2 separate regions of the Homo sapiens genome follow, and region 1 is linked to region 2. Evidence: promoter capture Hi-C in human tissues and cell types (Jung and others, 2019). All regions are on one chromosome and are shown on one strand. Each heading gives the region's core, a stretch centred on a gene start or on the middle of the fragment in contact. The rest is flanking DNA. Distances are from core to core; before and after follow the strand shown. Region 1 has its middle 3.9 kb from the start of MED11. Region 2 holds the start of ALOX15 (arachidonate 15-lipoxygenase).

Region 1 (2,700 bases), core at 201-2,700, 86 kb after region 2:
CTCTTTTTTATTTCCTCTCTTCTTTGGTTTTGTTTTGTTTTGTTTTTTGAGACAGATTTTCGCTCTTGTCACCCAGGCTGGAGTGCAATGGTGAGATCTCAGCTCACTGTAACCTCCGCCTCCTGGGTTCAAGTGATTCTCCAGCTTCAGCCTCCTGAGTAGCTTGGATTACAGGCACCCACCACCATACCCAGCTAATTTTTGTATTTTTAGTAGATACAGGGTTTCACCATGTTGGCCAGGCTGGTCTCGAACTCTTGACCTCATGATCCGCCCGCCTCGGACTCCCAAAGTGCTGGGATTACAGGCATGAGCTACTGCACCCAGCCCTCTCTCACTCTTCATTCTTTCTTTACTTTTTGTTTTCAAAGTTATATATACATATAAAGAATCAGATAGTACTACAAGACCTATTACAATAAAAAGCAGACCCTTCCCACTCTAATTTCCTCCTCCTCAGAGGCAACTACTTTCACCACCTTTTTTTTGAGACAGGGTCTTGCTCTGTCACCCTTGGCATGATCACAGCTTACTGCAGCCTCCTCGATGCCCCAGGCTGAAGAGATCCTCCCACCTCAGCCTCCCAAGTAACTGGGACTACAGGTGCAAGCCACCATGCCCAGCTAGTTTTTTTAACTTTTTTGATTATTTTATTAATTTGTTTTTTTGAGACAGAGTCTCACTCTGTCGCCAAGGCTGGAGTGCAGTGGCACTGTGTCGGCTCACTGCAACCTCCGTCTGCTAGGTTCAAGCAATTCTCCTGCCTCAGCCTCCCGAGTAGCTGGGATTACAGGTGTCCACCACCATGCCCAGCTAGTTTTTATATTTTTAGTAGAGACGGGGTTTCACCATGTTGGCCAGGTTGGTCTTGAACTCCTGACCTCAGGTGATCCACCCACCGTGGCTTCCCAAAGTGTTGGGATGACAGGCGTGAGCCACCGCGCCCGGCCAGTTTTTTTATTTTTTGTAGAGATGGAGTATCCTCACGTTGCTCAGGCTACACCTGGCCTACTTTCACCACCTTTAGATGTTTATTTTGGCATTTACCTCCCTATCTCTAAACATGCTTATTTGGCAACTTCATGATTTTTGTTTTTGTTTGTTTTTTTTGTTTTGAGAGAGGGTCACGCTCTGTCGCCCAGGCTGGAGTGCAATGGTGCAATCTCAGCTCACTGCAACCTCCGCCTCCCATGTTCAAGCGATTCTCTTGTCTCAGCCTCCTGAGTAGCTGGGACTACAGATGCGTGCCACCACGCCCAGCTAATTTTTGTATTTTTAGTAGAGATGGGGTTTCACCATGTTGGCCAGGATGGTTTCCAACTCCCAACCTCAGGTGATCCGCCAGTCCCGGCCTCCCAAAGTGCTGGGATTATAGGCATGAGCCACCACACCTGGCTTGTGTGACAGATTTTTTTCATTACTTCCCTCATGGTTTGATTTTTCAAGGGTGTTTTGTTTGTTTGTTTGTTTTGTTTTTGAGATGGAGTCTTGCTCCAAATTGCAGTGTTACTGATACCTTCTAGTCTTCTGAAAATAATGTTTGTGGAGGAAGGGATCAAGAAATGTAGCACCATCATTTAAATTCCCTCAGGACCAACCCTACTGGACACATAAACAATAGCAACAACATCTACTTTCAATAAAATGTTGGCATTGCTCTCTGCCAATTACCTTGAGAGCCTGACTCTGGAATGAAAAGCTCTATACCGACCCTGGCCTTGAACTCCTGACCTCAAGTGATCCTCCCGCCTCGACCTCCAAAAGTGCTGGGATTGCAGGCATAAGCCACCATGCCCAGCCAAGGATGCTTTTTCGGATTCAATCATGTTTTATACTATCTCTTACCTAAAAGCTTCAACAGTTGTCCCCACCTCCCCCTTTTTATTTTGGTTTCTGTCTTTCATGTTAGAAAGTTTCTTTACATACCTAGAAATTTTTGCTTTCTGCTCACATTTAAGAGCGGGTGCTTAGCTTGACATGGTGGCTCACATCTGCAGTCCCAGCTACTCAGGAGGCTGAGACAGGAAGATCACTTGAGCCCAGGAGTTCAGGACTACAATGACCTATGATTGCGCCACTGCACTCTAGCCTGGGTGACACAGAGAGGCCCTATCTCAAGAAACTAAAAAAAAAAAAAAAAGAGTGAGGTGCCAAGAAGTTGACTAGAATTTCCATGTACACAGTTGGGACTTGCCAACTGTGAGTTTCAGTATGAGGTGATCTGGCCAACTGACTGGTTGGAGAACCCCTGACGTTCACATCGTAAGGTCTTTTCTCACTTACCAAATTCCCCAGAGAAGAGTCTTCCAGTCTCTTACCTGGAAAGTATAAGCCTTGTGCTGGAGTTCTGGAAACTACCACTCACTATATAAACTTTCGTTTTTGTTTTTGTTTTTTCTTGGATACAGGGTCTCACTCTGTCACCCAGGCTGGAGAGCAGAGGCGTGATGAGGACTCCCTGCAGTCTCAACTCCCAGGCTCAAGCAATCCTCCCACCTCAGGCCCCTCCAAGTGGCTGGGACTATTTTTATACTTTTTGTAGAGTTAGGGTCCCACTATGTTGCCCAGGCTGGTCTAAAACTCGTGGGCTCAAGTGATCCTCCTGCCTTGGCCTCCAAAAGCGCTAGAATTACAGGCATGAGCCAACTCACCTGGCCCTAAACTTTCACTTAATCTCTGTTTTTCTTTTTTGGAGACTGA
Region 2 (2,700 bases), core at 132-2,631:
ATTCCGGCTTCAGAAGGGCTTGGAAGGTCTGCAGCAGAGGTGGCGAGGCCGCTGGAGGTTTGAAATGGCTTTTAAAATAGAGAAACCGGGAGGACCGACGACCGCTCCGGCGACCGCAGTTTCCAGGCACCAGAGCTGTGTGGAATGAGGGGCGCTCAGGAGCATCCCCTTAATTCCAAGGAGATCGAGTAGCGGGAACATTTATTGAGCCTTTACTGTGTGTCACCAACTGCCCACCATAGGGAGGAAAAAAGGGAGGAGGGAGCGCGCCTTTCCACCTTCCGTGCCCCGTCCCCTCACCATGGAGTCGCGGGGCCACCTGCTCCGTGCGCATTTTCTCTCTTCCTGGCTCCCTTTGCCCCGCTTTCTCGGAAGCTCGGAGCAAGGGCGTGGAGTGCGGGGAGCAGGGCTCCGCAGGTTCAAGAGGACGCGGGCGGTCGGGGGCGGGACGGATATTGGGCAGGGACGCGGGAGATGCTCAGGGTCTAGAACTGACTGCGCCGGATTCTTGTTTAGAGGGAGGTGAAGAGAGGAAGGAGGCGCGGGTGACACCGGGGGAGGCAGGAGGAGAGGGCTGGGAGGTGGGGAGAGGGGAGGACCTCATCCGGGCATGTTGCTTTGACGTTCCCTGAGACAGACATCCGGATTTGGGGATCTGGGAGAGAGCTAGAGCAGTGATGGGAATTTGGGCTTTCGCGGAAGAAAAAAAGTTAACAGGACCGGGTAGAACACCCGGTAGATGTGACATGAGATATGACGGGAGGTGGGTCGGGAAATCGAGAGCGTTCTCCTGTCTTGACTCCCCATCCCTTCCCTCTCACCACCCACTCCACCCCAGGTGATAAAGCCTGAAAGGTAGAGATCCAACAGCGCTAGCGGTTGAAACGGTTTTTAAAATAGAGAAAGCGAGAGGACCGACGGCGGCTCCAGTGACTGCTGAGTTTCCAGACAAGGGAGCTTTGTGCAATGAGGGGCGCACAGGAGCATGCCCTCAATTCCAAGGAGATCGGGTAGCGGCAACATTTATTGAGCGCTTACTGTGTGCCACCGACTGCCCTAAAGCCCCCCACCCCCGTGGCCTCCGCGCGCTTTGAGCCCAATGCGCGGGCCCTTGGCAAAGAGAATCGGCCAGAGGCCAACGGGGGCGCATGTCCTCCCCGGTATTTGACTGACTCGGAGCCAGGGGCGCAGCCCACCCCGCCCGGCTCTGGGGAGCTCACCTTGCCCCGTGCGGGCCACAGTCGCTTCCCGAGCGCCGCCTCCCCGTGCTGGCCGACCAGCCACAGCTGCACCTGGTTGTTGGAACCGGCATAGAGCGAGGCCCCAGTGGACACGCGGATGCGGTAGAGACCCATCTTGCTCAAAGATGTTTCGCTCCTTCTGGTGGAGAAGGGTGGACGAGCTAAATAACCCAGCCTGAGACCCCGCCCTCTCGGAGGTCGCTTGGGGTCGGAATGTGGGTGGCAGGTCTCCAATCAACTCCGCCTACCGCTGGGGCCCCCAGCTCCAAGGAGCAGAGCTTCAAGGGGCAGAATTCAGCCCCAGTCCAAAAGGCGGTGTCCTGGCGAGAGCAGGGAGTGGAAACCACTATCTTGACGGGAGGGAGAAAAAGAAAAGGATTTGGACCGAAAACACGCAGGAAGAGGGAATCAACGCCTGGTACAGCAGGCAGGCGAGGTGGGGGTAGGAGTTATGCACGTGTGTACCACGGACTTTGGGCCAAGCCTGGGTGGCTGGGAAGCCAACCTCCATCTAAACGCACGCGTGCACACACACACACACGCAAGGACACGCGCGCGCACACACAAGCCTCACAAGTTGGATTGCAGGAGAGGGTGAAGTGGGCGAGGAGACCCAGTTTGCAGTGGCATTTGAGGAAGGTACATTCAGGCCACGGAATTCATTCGACCAGCTTTGCACACTTGCCTTCTCTGTGCCAGCCACTGGGACTCATTCCTTTTGAGCATAAAAGCCGCTGCCTCCCTGTTGCCTGCAGAATAAAAGTCCAAATGTTTCTGGCATTCAATGCCCTTGCTAACCTGACCTGCTCTCCTCACCTCTCATCCCACTGCACCCTGGCATCTCCTGTGCTGGAGCCATGTGTTCCCCGGAACCCCCCCTCCCCCCGCCGCCCCTGCTGTTCTCTCAAAGAACTCACTTCTGGGTTAGTCTGGTCATGCTTCTAAACCCTAATTCGTCTCCAGTTTCTTTTTGGGCTGGAGCCATGTGTTCCCCAGAACCCCACCTGCTGTTCTCTCAAAAGAACTTGCTCCTGGATTAGTCTATTCATCTATTCATGCTTCTAAACCCTAGTTCACCTCCGGTTTCTCAGGAAAGTCTTACCCGGTACTTTCACCCCCCACCACCCCACCAGAGTGAATTAGCTTTCCTTTTTTTTTTTTTTTTGAGATATAGAGTCTCACTCTGTCACCCTGGAATGCAGGGTGGAGTGCAATGGCACGATCTCGGCTCACGGCAACCTCTGCCTCCCGGGCTCAAGCAATTCTCTGCCTCAGCCTTCCGAGTAGCTGGGATTACAGGCGCCTGCCACCATGCCTGGATAATTTTTGTATTTTTAGTAGAGACGGGGTTTCTCCATGTTGGCCACGCTGGTCTTGAACTCCTGACCTTGTGATCCACCCACCTCAGTCTCCCAAAGTGCTGGAATTACAGGTGTGAGCCACGGCGCCCGGCCCAGCT

The links. The method cuts DNA at HindIII sites, captures the fragments that hold promoters and counts their contacts. A contact is called where the count stands out against the background at its distance.
Region 1: a fragment that was not itself captured here is called in contact with the fragment with the promoter of ALOX15 in region 2 in 4 of the 25 tissues and cell types used here (H1 embryonic stem cells, IMR-90 fibroblasts, dorsolateral prefrontal cortex and 1 more).

Annotation. Positions count from the first base shown.
Region 1 is chr17:4,726,150-4,728,849 of GRCh38, forward strand. No RefSeq gene overlaps it. Among named protein-coding and RNA genes, the nearest start is that of MED11, 3.9 kb to the right of the region's middle. The HindIII fragment of the contact is 5,027 bases long and covers 1-2,700 here.
Region 2 is chr17:4,640,297-4,642,996 of GRCh38, forward strand. It overlaps ALOX15 (arachidonate 15-lipoxygenase), which reads right to left and starts at 1,382. Exons shown (of 14, transcript NM_001140.5): 1 at 1,221-1,382. The coding sequence starts at 1,355. The HindIII fragment of the contact is 22,491 bases long and covers 1-2,700 here.